Regions from separate parts of the Homo sapiens genome. Here all the other regions are linked to region 4. Evidence: promoter capture Hi-C in human tissues and cell types (Jung and others, 2019). All regions are on one chromosome and are shown on one strand. The core of a region is centred on a gene start or on the middle of the fragment in contact, and the rest is flanking DNA. Distances in the headings are between cores, read along the strand shown. Region 1 overlaps LOC105373712 (a long non-coding RNA gene). Region 2 has its middle 4.5 kb from the start of CYTIP. Region 3 overlaps ACVR1 (activin A receptor type 1). Region 4 holds the start of ACVR1C (activin A receptor type 1C). Region 5 overlaps ACVR1 (activin A receptor type 1).

Region 1 (2,700 bases), core at 146-2,645, 150 kb after region 4:
GACCCAAGTGTCTGTCGTTTCCTTCTTTGCGTTCATAAGTTCTTATCATTTAAAAATGAGAACATGCAGTTTTTGGTTTTCTGTTCCTGCATTAGTTTGCTAAGGATAATAGCCTCTAGCTCCATTCATGTTCCCACGAAAGACGTGATCTTATTCTTTTTTCATGGTTGCACAGTATTCCATGGTGTATATGGACCACATTGCCTTTATCTAGTCTGTCATTGATGTCGTTTGATGGGCGTTTAGCCTGATTCCGTGTCTTTGCTATCATTAATAGTGCTGCAATGAACATTCGCATACATATGTCTTTATGGTAGAATGATTTATAGTCATCTGAGTATATACCTAGTAATGGGATTGCCGGGTGGAATGGTGGTTCTGCTTTTAGCTCTTTGAGGAATTGCCATACTGCTTTCCACAATGGTTGAACTAATTTACACTCCCACCAACAGTGTATTAGTGTTCTCTTTTCTCTGCAAACTGGCCAGCATCTGTTATTTTTTTGAATTTTTAACAACAGCCATTCTGACTGGTGCGAGATGGTACCTCATCATGGTTTTGATTTGCATTTTTCCAGTGATCAGTGATATTAAGCTTTTTTTCATATCCTTGTTGGCCACATATATCGCTTCTTTTGAGAAGTGTCTGTTCATATCCTTTGCCTACTTTTCAATGGGGTTTAAACCACTATTTTTTAATGTAAGGATTTATACTAATAGTTATATGGACAAAGATTTATGTTCAAATTTGATCACATTATTATTTCTAACAGTGAACTATCAGAAATAACAATATTTAATAAAATTAGATTACTATCAAACTAGAAAATTATGGTTCTGCTATAGTATGGACTGTCATATCACTATTAAAATCATGTTGTGATTAGTTATTAGTGATAAAAGAAAATTATAGCGGGTAGTGTTAGTGTTTAAGTGTAACAAGATAGTGTTTTAAGATACACTATTTAAGTGTAATAAGAGAATATACATAGTTATTTATGCATAATTATCTCATCTGGTTAAAATCAATAATAAAAAAGGACTAGGGAGGTTAAGACAAATGTTCATGATGATTTTTGGTGGTAGTGGGATCCTCTCTACTTTACAAATTATCTGCAACAGAGAGATAATCATGGGAAAAATGTATTTAAATAAGGAAAAGAAACAAATACAAAAGGAAATACCGAGACAAATAAAAAAGGGCAGATCATTAGAAATGGTGAGAGGCTCACGGATATGACTACAAATCTGAAGTGAAGGCAGAGTTGGAATGGAGTTTAGAGCAAATAGAAATACTGGAGTAATTCGTGCTCATGGCCAGCTCCTTCAAAGCACTGAAGTGTATAGAACGGCTGCAAGGAAAGACCTGAGCTTCTCTGTCTTGTGATGAAAGTGAGTTTTGTTTTTCTAAAACAAACCAGTTCTCTGCCCAAATTTACATTTTTATAGATGCCACATATATTTTCAACCTCTAAAATATTTTGGTTAAGATGTTTTCAAAATAATAAATCTTCAAAATCAGTCTCTATTTTCTCTTTATTTTGTTTAAGTCCATGACCTTTCAATTTATGCAATATTTTAATTTTGGGGGAGGGGGGCAGCAAAAGTAGATGTAATTTGTCTATTAGCTATTACTTTGATTTTTATAGTCTAAATATGTGGAAGTTTCCAACTTTCTTATCTTTATTGCAGTTAGACTTTCTAAAATGCCTTAGAGGAGTTTGAAGGTCTCATTATTTTCTTCAAACACTTTATTTCCCAGGAAGGTAGATATTTGTATCTCTTGCCTGTAGAATCTGCTCTATGGTTAGGAGAATTTATGTCCCTATTTTTTAGTTCTCACTTGGATTTCTTGATACTGAAAAAAGCCTCCTGAACTCAGGCCTTTACATACTTGTCCTCAGCATAATGGATGCCTGGTCCACACACTCATGTTCATTTCTTCAGTTTCTCCCTCCCTCTTCAAATTACCCTGGGGCCTTGATCGTGTCTTCTCTTGCTATAGCCTGTCTACCACTACCTAATCTCATATTCCAGCAGTAAGTGATCACTTATGTAGGCTGAGAGGAAAAAAATGTTGTTTTCCTGAATTTCTTTTTAGGAAATAGCAGTATATTTTTGTTAAAACATAAACATAATTGCTTATGCCCAATAAACTTTTACAGAAATAAAATATACTTAAAACTGTGTTTTCCATTGAATTGTCACTACAACATTTCTTTCCTCTAGAACATTTCTTTGCATTTAGTCTTAGTAAGATTGCATTGGGTTCTCCATCAGCCCAAGGTATGAGATGCTGGTTGTTGGATCTGCAAAGCATGACTGAGTCCCAGGGCATTAATCATCATGGCATATGCATTATTTTGCTGCTGTGCTCTGCTGAGCCAAGGAGATGATGCATATGTATTCACACTCCTCCACTCTCACTTTCTTCTTCCATCTATACTTTCTCTCTGAAGGCAGTTTTGGCTGCCACCAAGTACTGTACCCCAAATGCCACATTTTCAAATGCAAATGCCTGTTTACAGGAACATCTTGTCCCTTGGGCCAGTTCATCTCTCTGTGGTACATACCTACCGGTAGTATAGCTATAACTTTGGCTGCTGCTTTGTAAGTATAAAGTCACAACCAGAATTGTAACATGCAAATTTAAAACTGGAATGTCTACAAGTAGGCTCAAATACCTTTGGAGTCACTAAGT
Region 2 (2,700 bases), core at 154-2,653, 180 kb after region 4:
AGAAACAGCCCTCTTCACTGAAGCCAATTTCTATTGGGTGTGGTGAATACAATTCATTTATTTCATGGTTGTTATGGCAGCAAGATAAAGATATATATGCATCAGGTTAAAAATAAAACTAAATGAAAATTATCTATCCATCTCTCTATATAGACAGGTGGTCTATATGCCTCTATATCTTGATCTTGACGTTTATATTTGATTGGACATATTCTTAAATATTTTATTAATCAAGTAACTTTAAAATAAAAATAGCTACTTTTTAAAAAATACAATAGTCCTCAAAGAAGGAAAATACTCCGGGTAATAAGTGGTCAACCAATTATATATTTCTCTTAAAGCTTTAATCTTTCTTGGAAAGACATCTTCATATTATAGAACAATTCCCTTAGTACAAAAATGTTGTTCATTCCGGTTGAGTTAAACCCTCTCTACCTTTGTCTTAATAGGTTAATGAACAAAAGTTTGTTTTGAATGAATTTTAAACAAATCCAGAATTAGGGTTCCTTTAACTATTGGTTATCCTGGTTACTTTGTGTTTCTTTTTAAAGGGATTTTTGCTGTTAGGGCTTTATCTCTCCAAAAAGGTGATAGTCTGTAGAAATTGGGGAACTCATTAGAGGGCTGACGCTTTTTTTTTTTTTTACAGAGTGATTCAATAGTCTACTGTTCTTCACACTCTATGTGAAGAGTCTTTTCTGTTTTCTATAAGCCTGTATTTTCATTCAGTTTTATTTTTAACCCGATTAAATTATGTGGTATGAATGGGAACACAATATAAAGCAAAGCAATTACAACTACAATGGTTGATGTCAGGGCTGAAAGTCTCAGAATCCCCCCTCTCATACCTTTCTCTTTTTCTTCTTCTTCCCTTATTTCCCAGGACATTCAAAGGATCTCCTTACATTTTCATGAGTACAGTTTTAAAATCATTGCATAGACTACCTCTTAAGACTCAAACAACCCGCATTCACAGAGCATTTTGTATAGATATATGGATAAGTCCACAGGAGAAGCTGCCTTTTAAAACCTATGCACATCCTGACTGCTTCCAGGTGGCCCCAATACTACTGTGTACCTTCAGCATGGACCCTTCAACATGAAGCCATCTCTGCCATATGCCCAACATGCTCAAAGTACTCCCCCTAAACCTGAAATAGATAAAGTTGCAAAAGGAATATTTAAAAGTGCAGTTAATGATGTTTCTAGGTGATAAGTGCACCAAATGAATGTGTCTACTTTTATATCTAAAAGAGTGTTGAAATTATCTTACTGAGTTATTTCATGAAACACTGATCTAGATAATCTATTTAAAGCCCCAATTGAATTTAGTGGCTTAATCCCTTGAATGATATTGCAATCTACCCATAGCTTCATGATTTGATTGAATTAAACTTGAATAAATCAGAAAATTGTTTCCTTGCACTTGTATTAAAAACATAGTAGATTTGATGTATTGCTAGCTATTATTTATATTAGGTTTAAAGTTTTTCTTTGTGTTGTTTTAAATATGCATGTCACAACTCTAAGCCAATATTTGGCTTATATCACACTAGGATTTCTAATATAGGGTCTTTATGACCTTTGTTTCTGTTATTTTCCTTTCCTGAGCTGCCTATTTTTCAGGGCTTGTCCTAGTTACAAATTTTTAGTTTATCCTTTTCTGAAGAAGGCTATTACTCTCTGGGGAGTAGTGTTCATAATTCCAGTGATCCACACTGAGTTGGATGAGGACATCTGTCTACCCAGCTCCATCACTCAAATAAGGTGATACATAGGACAGAGCAGTTTTCACAGTTAGTGGATCCTCATATATGAGAGTAACTTTACTAAATCAAATTTACCTTATATAAATTCAAAGGCACAATATTCAAATATTGTCTATATGACTTTAACACATCTCCTACATCATTCCAGAGACCCAAATAAAAACTTCCCTTCCAAATGAAGGCAAAAGGCCAAAATAAAACAAATTAGCAAACCAAACCACAACAAAACAAAATCCTGTGATGTTCCAGGAAGCCAGATAAAATCTTCTTGTGCAAATAAAGGCAAATAGCAAAAATAAAACAAACAAAAAACTCAACAGCTATCTTAAGATCAGAAAGGCATAGAGGAAGTCTCATTTTTTAAGCAACCAGTTACTCTTCTTCTGTGTCTTACAATAATCCAGAAATTTCACACATTGGCTCTGATGATGGTTTTCAAACACATCTTGATATTCGATGGTAAGGAATTCACATGTATTGTGTAGCCTTTAGACTTCTTCAGGGTGACAAGGGCATCCTTGCTGCACATAGAGGCACTTAGTAATGAATAGGGCTATTCATATAGAATTCATGTTATATCCTTTTTTAGCTTTTCCTTTTGAAGGCTTGTTACTTAAAGCAAAATTCAGTAGATATAGCTTACTTTATACCATGTGCTATTCATGGGCTATTCTGTCTATTTTTTCCTGCAAATTTTTGTTTTAGATATGTGAACACTAAAGTTTAGAGAGTGTATTAGTCAGTTCAAGCCACCATAACCAATACCATAGCATAACAAATACCATAGACTGGGTGGCTTTAAACAATAGAAATTTATTTTCTCACAGTTTTAGATGCTGGGAAGTCCAAGATTGAGGTGCTGGCAGATTCAGTTCCTGGTGAGGGATCTCTTCCTGGCTTGCAGGAGGCTGCCTTCTTGCTGTGTCCTCAT
Region 3 (2,700 bases), core at 142-2,641, 160 kb before region 4:
CCCTGCAGGCATGGCAGAGCCTTATGCTAAGGTGTTTGTCTTCTATCCTGAAGGCAATGGAGAACTGTGGAGAGATTAAGTAGGTGCAGTTTGTGTTTTGAAAGAGTGGTGTGTGGTGAAAGTGGATCATAGAGTGTGGCAAGATGAGAAGTAAAGGGATGGGAAAAACTAATCCTCCTGCAGTTTAGGGACAGGCAGGCACACATACTCCATTTTCAAAGGCATCCCAACTGTAGCAACTAAATGGTGGCAAACAAAACAAAAACAAAGCCTTAGTGCGAACGTAGAACTGTTACAGGTGGCTCACAAATGATATTAACAGTGACAAAACAACAATAATCTAATAATAATGCTATTGCTAGTTTTATTATGAAAGCAGAAGCCAGAGCTGCTGACTTTTCTAACAACTTTTGCAGGACATTTAAATCCCTCTAGCTGGCCCTTTGTTCCTGTGTTGCCATGGAGTGTCAATAAGCCCAGCTCAGAATAACCCAGGCAGTGAAATGAGAGGTACAGCTTGCTCACTGGCATGTTGGCTGGCCAGGTTACACTGTTTTCATTGCTCCCATCTTGGGAGGAGCACTGGGCAGCTGGTTGCCCTGGCAGCTGTGAAGGTGTATGTCTCTTGGCTGCCCAGAGTTCGAAACGGAACCAAAACTTGCCTGCCTACTGAGCATGTGCAGCTCCTGACTGAGCTGACAGCAACTGAAAAAAGCCCACTGAGCACCTGTCCCTTGTACACCAGCCCCTGGCCGACTGCCATTTAGGACAATGTGGACTTACTTAGTAGACAGGTGAGGTGCTGAGCAGATTTTAATGGTCTGAGGAAGATCTTGGGAACTTTGGCCCTACTTAAAAGGAAGAAAAAAAAAGCAGCAGGCTTCTGAGCAGTTCCATTTGGTGCTTCTGTGGTTAGTGGGTGGCCACACTGGCTACGTATGTACAGTATGTGCCTGAAGACTTCATATTGTTCTCCTTACAGCAGTTCAGTAAACTAAGTAAGTTTTCTCTTTGAGAGAAAGGCTTTCCTAAAAGTCTCCTAGTGGTAGCCATCCATGGTTTATACAGCCTCAGCTTTAGAAAGTTTTGGAGTTAAACTATTTTGTTTCATTTTATACCTGCTCTTTAATCCCTAGTGATTGTTAGTCATTTCTACAAGGTGTCTCTTTGCTAGATTATTATTTCTCAGTAGTCCAAATATTGGCACAAGTACAATCACAGAATAGAATCCCAGCATGTCAGGAGCTGTCTGTTCCCTTTTGGGATTTCTTCCATTTCCTTCTGGACTTTAATCTCCTCAGTAAGCTTGCCATTGTTGGACAGACTTGGTGGCCAGTGTGGATGGAAGCAGGCTCTGGAAGGAAATGCTTCTGAAATGACTGGTGGCATTAAAGCTACTATTTAAAAGTGACCCTTTGTAGATACTTGGGTTATCTTTAGGCTGTCAGTGATCTGCAGCTACAGGAGCCAGAGGGAATCTGCGGAAACTCTTGTTTGTTGCTCTCGCCTGGATTTGTGTTTAGATATTCTTGCTCCCCAGCCAGTGGCCTCGTGACACATCTCAGATTTAGCTGGCTTTCTTCTGCCAAAGTCCAAGATTATTGTGGAAACTGGGAATGGTTTGCCATGGCACAGATTGAAGGGGAGGGATTGTGTGTTTGAAAAGCCAGTTCAGCTTCACAGCACTCAAATGAGATGCTTTCTGTTTCTACCTGGAGTGTAGGCACCTGGAGCCTTTCTGTGGGCCCAGGGGTAAAAAAGGACAAGCTCAAAATGACTCAAATTTAACTGTCTCATTGTGACTGTAAGATCTTTATTCTGTGACTGATAAGCCAATCTTGTTCAATATGTTAAACCTGAGAATTAATGAATTGTTTTGGACTATATTAATTAGACTGATAGGGGAAAGAAGATATGTAAAGCAAAGATCAAGTTATAAAGGCTGGGATACAGAGGCACAGGCACATCTTCCTGGGGTTGAAGACATGGGATTCCTTTCTTCATTAACCTTTCATGGAGTTCTGGACTTGGTAGGGCCTTGGGAAATGAATGGGGAAATTGGAGGATAGGGAAGTAGCATTATCAGAGGCTTGGACTCTGCCCCAAGTTTTTACCCTTTTGACTGTTATTTTAAAATCGCTTTGGCTTCATCTAGGATGGAAAGTAAATACAGTAACCCCCTATTTATCCATGGGGAATACATTCCAAGACCCCCGGTGGATGCCTGAAACCACAGATAGTATTGAACCTTATCTATACTACATCTTTTCCTATGTCTAGGATAAAGTTTAATTTATAAATTAGGCACAGGAAGAGATTAACAACAATAGCAAAGTAAAATAGAACAATTATAACAATAGGCTGGCATCACCACTCTTGTGCTTTGGGGCAGTTATTAAGTAAAGGAAGGGTTCCTTGAACGCACCTGCAATACCATGGCAGTGGATCTGGTAACCAAGACATCTGCTCAGTGACTAGCAGGATGGTAGCATCTACAGTGTGGGTACGCTGGACAAATGGATGATTCATGTCCTGGGCAGGATGGAGCTGGACAACGTGAGATTCCATCATGCTACTCAAACAGCATATAACTTAGAACTTAGGAAATGTTCATTTCTGGAATTTTTTGCTTAATATTTTTGGACTGTGGTTGATGGTAGGTAACCGAAATAGTGGAAAGTGAAACGGTGCATAAGGGGG
Region 4 (2,700 bases), core at 117-2,616:
AGGGCTCAGATTTGTCCCACATCTCCAGTTTTTTGTTTGTTTGGATCCAGGATAAAACAAGAACAAAGTTTTTTTGTGCTTAGGAATATAAGATGGTGGCAGAAAAGATCCTCAGGATGCCACCCACATCTCAAAGTCCAACAACCATCTCATCTCCCATACTGTGATCCTTTGATAATAAAGTCAATTACATACAACATTTCACCATAGGTCTTTCATAGAACTTAGAACACCTAGCATATAATTTAGTCCTGAGCTAGGTGAAGAAGCAAGAAATGTTTTACTCTAAAGCAATTTTTATGACGCTATCACTTTTCAAGGAACCCCCAACAGTAGTAATAACACCAGTATTGTATTCTTGCTTTTTCGCGTTGTTCAGATTGAAATAATCCCATTCACTTTAATGTTCAGGCTCCATAGGTGAATTGAATTTAATTTCTATAAATTGGTAATGTTGCCGTTGTCCTTATATTTTCAGGCACAATCCAGGCCTTATATTTTCAGGCACCCGTTTGACAGTTAGCCTCTAGGGATTAAACAATACTCAAACAAGTTTTTCATATACTACTTTAAACAATTCTTCCCCTTCCCTTAATCCGTGTGTGTGTGTGTGTGTGTGTGTGTGTGTGTGTGTGTGTGTGTATGTTCCCTTAGTTCTTCAATTGCTGAAGTTGTAGCTGCCGAAATTATCTTCCATAGGTGAGGTCTTTTACCACCAGACGTGGGTCACACATTGTAGATGGCCACATCACCTGGCGCAGGTGGTCCAGCTTTGGTCGCCATTCATAGAGGGAAGGGTTCCCAAAAGGCACCCAAGAAGAGATGAAGTTTGTTAAACCAAAGCTTATAGGTCCAGAAGGCAGTCGGACAACTGGTCATTTCCAGGGATGAACAGAGAGGGCGCCCTTCCCCAGAGGCACAAATGGCCAGGACGCAGGGGTGGGACAAGCCAGTAGGAAGCCCGCGGGGCTCTCACAGCGCAACCTGGTTGGACTTAAGGACCCTGGACAACAAACGTCAGGAGAGCTAGGAGGCTGGCTCTTCTGCGGGAGGTTATAGAGCGGATCACCTGGGCGCAATCGCCGCGTAGTTGAAGTTTCCCTAAAGTCTCAGTGGGGCTTTTCCTCCCGTGAGAAGCCCCATTCCTGAGTATCTAGTCCCGGAGGCTCCGCACTGCTTCCCCACGCCCCCTCTTTCTTCGCCCCAGCTCTGGGCGATCTCACTGCCGGGCACAGGGCCGCCTTTGCCTGCCTGCCCTGCAGCAGCAGGCCCGGGCGGCTGCGAGAGGGCGCAGGGGGCGGAGGCGCGGCAGGGGCGGGCTCTGCCGCCCGCCCCACCACCCGCTCCCCGCCCGGCTGCGGGGCCAGTGGCAGGAGCGCCGCGCACCGCCAGCCGCAGGGGGCGTGGGATGGGGGCGGCCGGGGAGGGGGGCGCCCACACTGACTAGAGCCAACCGCGCACTTCAAAAGGGTGTCGGTGCCGCGCTCCCCTCCCGCGGCCCGGGAACTTCAAAGCGGGCCGTGCTGCCCCGGCTGCCTCGCTCTGCTCTGGGGCCTCGCAGCCCCGGCGCGGCCGCCTGGTGGCGATGACCCGGGCGCTCTGCTCAGCGCTCCGCCAGGCTCTCCTGCTGCTCGCAGCGGCCGCCGAGCTCTCGCCAGGTACGGTGCTGGTTTCTCTCCCGACGCCCGCGAGGGTGGGAGCTGGGAGGAGGTCTGCGGGTGAGCACGGGGGTGGGGGACAGGGGGTGCTCCGAGCAAACTGACCTTCGGGGCGGACAGGGAAGCGCCAGTCGGATTGAGGGGGCGCGGGATAGGGTGCAGCGTGGGCACCTGACGTCTGGCAGCCGTAGGGGTAGACAGGTGTGTTGGGGACGAAGCCGCCCGGAAGAGGGAAAAGGCAGCAGGGACGTGGGGGAATAAGTAGTAGGGGTGAGGTGGGTGACTAATTTGTGGGCAGTTTGCAGCGGAGAAAATAGGAGAGCGTTTGTGGGTGCGCGCATGGCTGGGAGCTGGGTTCACCCTGCAGGGACCTGGAGGGCTGCAGGTATGCGTCGGACGCGCTCTGTGCTAAGCCCCTGAGAGCTGCTCAAGGATGGTGGCATGGTGGTGGTGGGAGGTGGTGATTTAGTCTGAGTTTTAGGAGGCGGGGAATACCCCAAAAGCCGCAGATGCCAAGCTATGGAGGCGAGAGTGGGAGCTTAAATCTGTGTGGTTTGCAACGCACATTGCTTTCGAGGTACGATCTTTACTCAGAGTTCCTGGGGAAAAAAATTCTGGCAAGCGCCCCAGAGTTTATAACAGGTCTGTGCCTTGATAGGCTAAATAGAGCCCTCTACCCAATCTAGAAGCCAGACGTTTCTTTATAATGTTTACTAGAAAGTGGGGCAAATGCATCTTTGGTAAAATCATAATATGCTGTGACTAAAAGCCCTTTACCTCGAAAACTATTTTCATTACATTGTCCTGGATTATGCAGAGGAGGAGCAGATTCTTTGCTAACTCATTCTTTAAAAATTTCTATCAGACATTGAAGACATTTGCACATAAAAATCTGGTGTTTTCCCATAGAGCTGTGTTTTGTCCGAAGCTGATTTTGATGCATTTTGTTTTCCCAGATGACAATCTGTTTGACATTAATAGCTATATTCATGGTGGGTCGTTTTCCTCTTAGTGACATGTGCAAGAGAATGATTTGAATGAT
Region 5 (2,700 bases), core at 39-2,538, 140 kb before region 4:
TTTTACAGCTTGTTTTATATGCTGCTGATTGGCTCTCTTGGAAGATGGTACAAAGTGCCTATTTCCTGATTTTTGTTAGCTTTACTTTTATGTGGTAGGTATTTGCAAGTTCCATAATCATTTTCCTAAGTTTCTCTTTTAGACGGCTTGCAGGGATGGCTGCAGTAGCAATAATGGGTTGGCAACCTCTCCACACCCTCCTCCTAGTGCTCATGGTTTCCGAGGGCTGGATTTTGCAGCTCCTGCCGTTGCATCTTTTGCTTTTGGGAGGTGACCTATAAGCTGCCCCCACCACTTGGCTGCTGTTCTCCAGATTTTCTTCTTGTTTTCATGGAAAGAGGGACACCCCCAGTCTGAGTAGTAGAAACGGGGAAGGGCAGAGGTAGGAAGAGCAGTGGCTGCTGCCCCAAGGCACAGGAGTAACCAGCGGGAGCTTGGTTGTCCTTTCTCTAGGTCTACGGCTATTGTCACTGTTTGCTGCTTCTCGCTTCTCCTCCACGGCAGATTGTGAATGGAGAAAATAAAGATGGAAAAGCCCCAAATGTGCTCATTAATTTCAACCAGAGTTGTCCTCTTGTACTAACTAGTATCTTATTTGATTATGAACAAGATTATCTGGATAGTGGTGGGAAGACATTGAAGGGGTACATTTCCCTGTCTCATCTCCCCTCTCCACTACTATTCCATGCAAGCTATCTCAAGATTAGTCTTCAGAGATTGGCTCCAGAGTCCAAATGGCAAAATAGTAATGCACCTTTAAAGTATGTAGTTTCTGGTTCTATAGATATTCCTCAGCATTCTTTTGAAACAGTATAAATATCATTATTGCATTTTCTTGGGTTAGGACTAAAGACTTTAATAAAAGCAGTGCCTTTCATTAGCTTGTAGTTAGTGTGTTCATGTGGTACAGCTTTTAGTAAAAATATATGTGATGAACTGCATGGATGGTATGTTATTTTTGGTTCAAAAACATGGGAAGTTGGGTTAGGGGAGTCATTTCTGGATGACGATCAGTGAAACTACAAATTTCAGGTGCCTTAAGGGAGCCTTTTTGTGGGGCTCCATGGCCAGGGCTTTTGGGCAGCTCTGCTTTTGTTTTAGGGGCTTCTGCATAATGATGAATTTGCAAAAAGCATTTAACAACTTAAAAGCATTTGAAAACCATTGAACAATATTTCTATTTTAATTTACCTACCTCGACATTCATCTTCTGTTTTCTTTAAAACAACAACCAAAAAAAGGATTTGAGGTAATTTTGTATCCATAATTCCCTGGGATATTTTGCTCTCATCCCTAATGACAAAATGAGGACAAAGGGAAAATAAAGATACAAAACAGAACCAAAGGCAGGAAAAGATTAGCATACCATTTTCTGGCAGCCAGTATTTGTAGTATCTTAGCACTAGGCCTCATCTTGAGCTATAAATGCTGGCAAATTGCTATGGCTTTATTAAAAGGAATCGTGTACTAAATTATATTTGTGTGACCCAACAGTGGCCCACAATGAGCACTTGTTAGCCACATTGAACATCCTTTTGGGTTAGTTGTTGGTATTTAATAGGGACATGATATTCTTGTCAGGTAATCTAGATTTAGTGGTTGTGATTATGATTCAGGTGTGTCTCCTGGACAGAACTGCTTCTCTCTCCATGTTTGGGTTTTCAGTGACTTAGTGTTCCAGCAAAGAACTGTATTCCTGTATATGCAGGTGGTGCTGCAGCTGCTTATTAGAAGCTGTGTGATTCCAGCAGTCACTTGCCTGGGTAGAAAGCCCCACTGCCCTGCAAGTTATATCTCTTGCCTTGTTATCTAGGCTGATTATACCCCTTGTTGATCCTCATAGTCTTGTGGTAATTACCTCCTCCTCCAACCTCCCTGATCACCCCTACCTATAATTAAAGAGAAGAATGGAAGAGGGAGCATGTAGTTGACAAGCTGACAAGTGTGTTGCTGCTGCAAGAGGGGGCCATGCACCAAACAGATTAGATCACAAGTAGAGTTGCCACGTTTTCCAAAATGTATTCTCCAAGTAGCCTTTTCAGTGTAGCCCACTTGTAGCATCACAGGAGCTGTCTGACAAACAAATACCCATGACCAGTATCAGAAGAAGTCAGAACTCTTCTGGGATTATGTATTTAAGACTTTGCAAATCCTCTTTTTGAAATACATCTTCCGCCAAGAAATCTTTATGGATGCAGTGGCTGCATGTCGATCTTCTAGCAGCATTGTGTTTTGGTTTGTTTTTGTTTTTTAATCCTTAGAACACACATTTTAAACTTAATTGTTCTCCTTTGTGGAAAAAATGCATATCTAAATTCACCAATTTGGACAGTGCCTATGTTGATCCTGTGTGAAGGGAAGGAACCAAGGAAGGAATTCAGTTTACTGATGTACACTTTTTTGGCTTTCAGAACACAATTGAAATTTAATAATCTGTACCATTTCCTAAGTTTTACTTTCATGTGTTTTAAAAGTCATATGCATTTTATACCTTTCAACAGAGGAATTTAAATGTAAACTGAGTAATTAGCAGCTAATTATACAATGCAGATACAGAAGGCAGTTTGTTATCACAATATGGTAGATGAGAGGGGCAGCTTCCACCTTATTTTTGTATGTCTTTATAGGCCAAAAAAAATAAAAAATAAAGGTTGTGATATTTATATTCCCAAGCTGAGTTTCTCCAGTAAGCAATGGAGG

What was found. Contacts are between HindIII fragments. The study calls those that stand out against the background at their distance.
Region 1: a contact is called between a fragment that was not itself captured here and the fragment with the promoter of ACVR1C in region 4, in 1 of the 25 tissues and cell types used here (spleen).
Region 2: a fragment that was not itself captured here is called in contact with the fragment with the promoter of ACVR1C in region 4 in 1 of the 25 tissues and cell types used here (spleen).
Region 3: a fragment that was not itself captured here is called in contact with the fragment with the promoter of ACVR1C in region 4 in 1 of the 25 tissues and cell types used here (mesenchymal stem cells).
Region 5: a contact is called between a fragment that was not itself captured here and the fragment with the promoter of ACVR1C in region 4, in 1 of the 25 tissues and cell types used here (spleen).

What each region holds. Positions count from the first base shown.
Region 1 is chr2:157,473,443-157,476,142 of GRCh38, reverse strand. The region is part of intron 3 of LOC105373712 (a long non-coding RNA gene); the gene reads left to right. Among named protein-coding and RNA genes, the nearest start is that of CYTIP, 31 kb to the right of the region's middle. The HindIII fragment of the contact is 5,596 bases long and covers 1-2,700 here.
Region 2 is chr2:157,447,268-157,449,967 of GRCh38, reverse strand. No RefSeq gene overlaps it. Among named protein-coding and RNA genes, the nearest start is that of CYTIP, 4.5 kb to the right of the region's middle. The HindIII fragment of the contact is 3,303 bases long and covers 1-2,700 here.
Region 3 is chr2:157,788,226-157,790,925 of GRCh38, reverse strand. The region is part of intron 3 of ACVR1 (activin A receptor type 1); the gene reads left to right. Among named protein-coding and RNA genes, the nearest start is that of ACVR1, 87 kb to the left of the region's middle. The HindIII fragment of the contact is 5,724 bases long and covers 1-2,700 here.
Region 4 is chr2:157,627,530-157,630,229 of GRCh38, reverse strand. ACVR1C (activin A receptor type 1C) reads left to right here and starts at 1,366. Exons shown (of 9, transcript NM_145259.3): 1 at 1,366-1,658. The coding sequence starts at 1,586. RefSeq lists a silencer at 1,422-1,651. The HindIII fragment of the contact is 14,203 bases long and covers 76-2,700 here.
Region 5 is chr2:157,770,615-157,773,314 of GRCh38, reverse strand. All of the region lies in intron 6 of ACVR1 (activin A receptor type 1), which reads left to right. Among named protein-coding and RNA genes, the nearest start is that of ACVR1, 100 kb to the left of the region's middle. The HindIII fragment of the contact is 5,036 bases long and covers 1-2,700 here.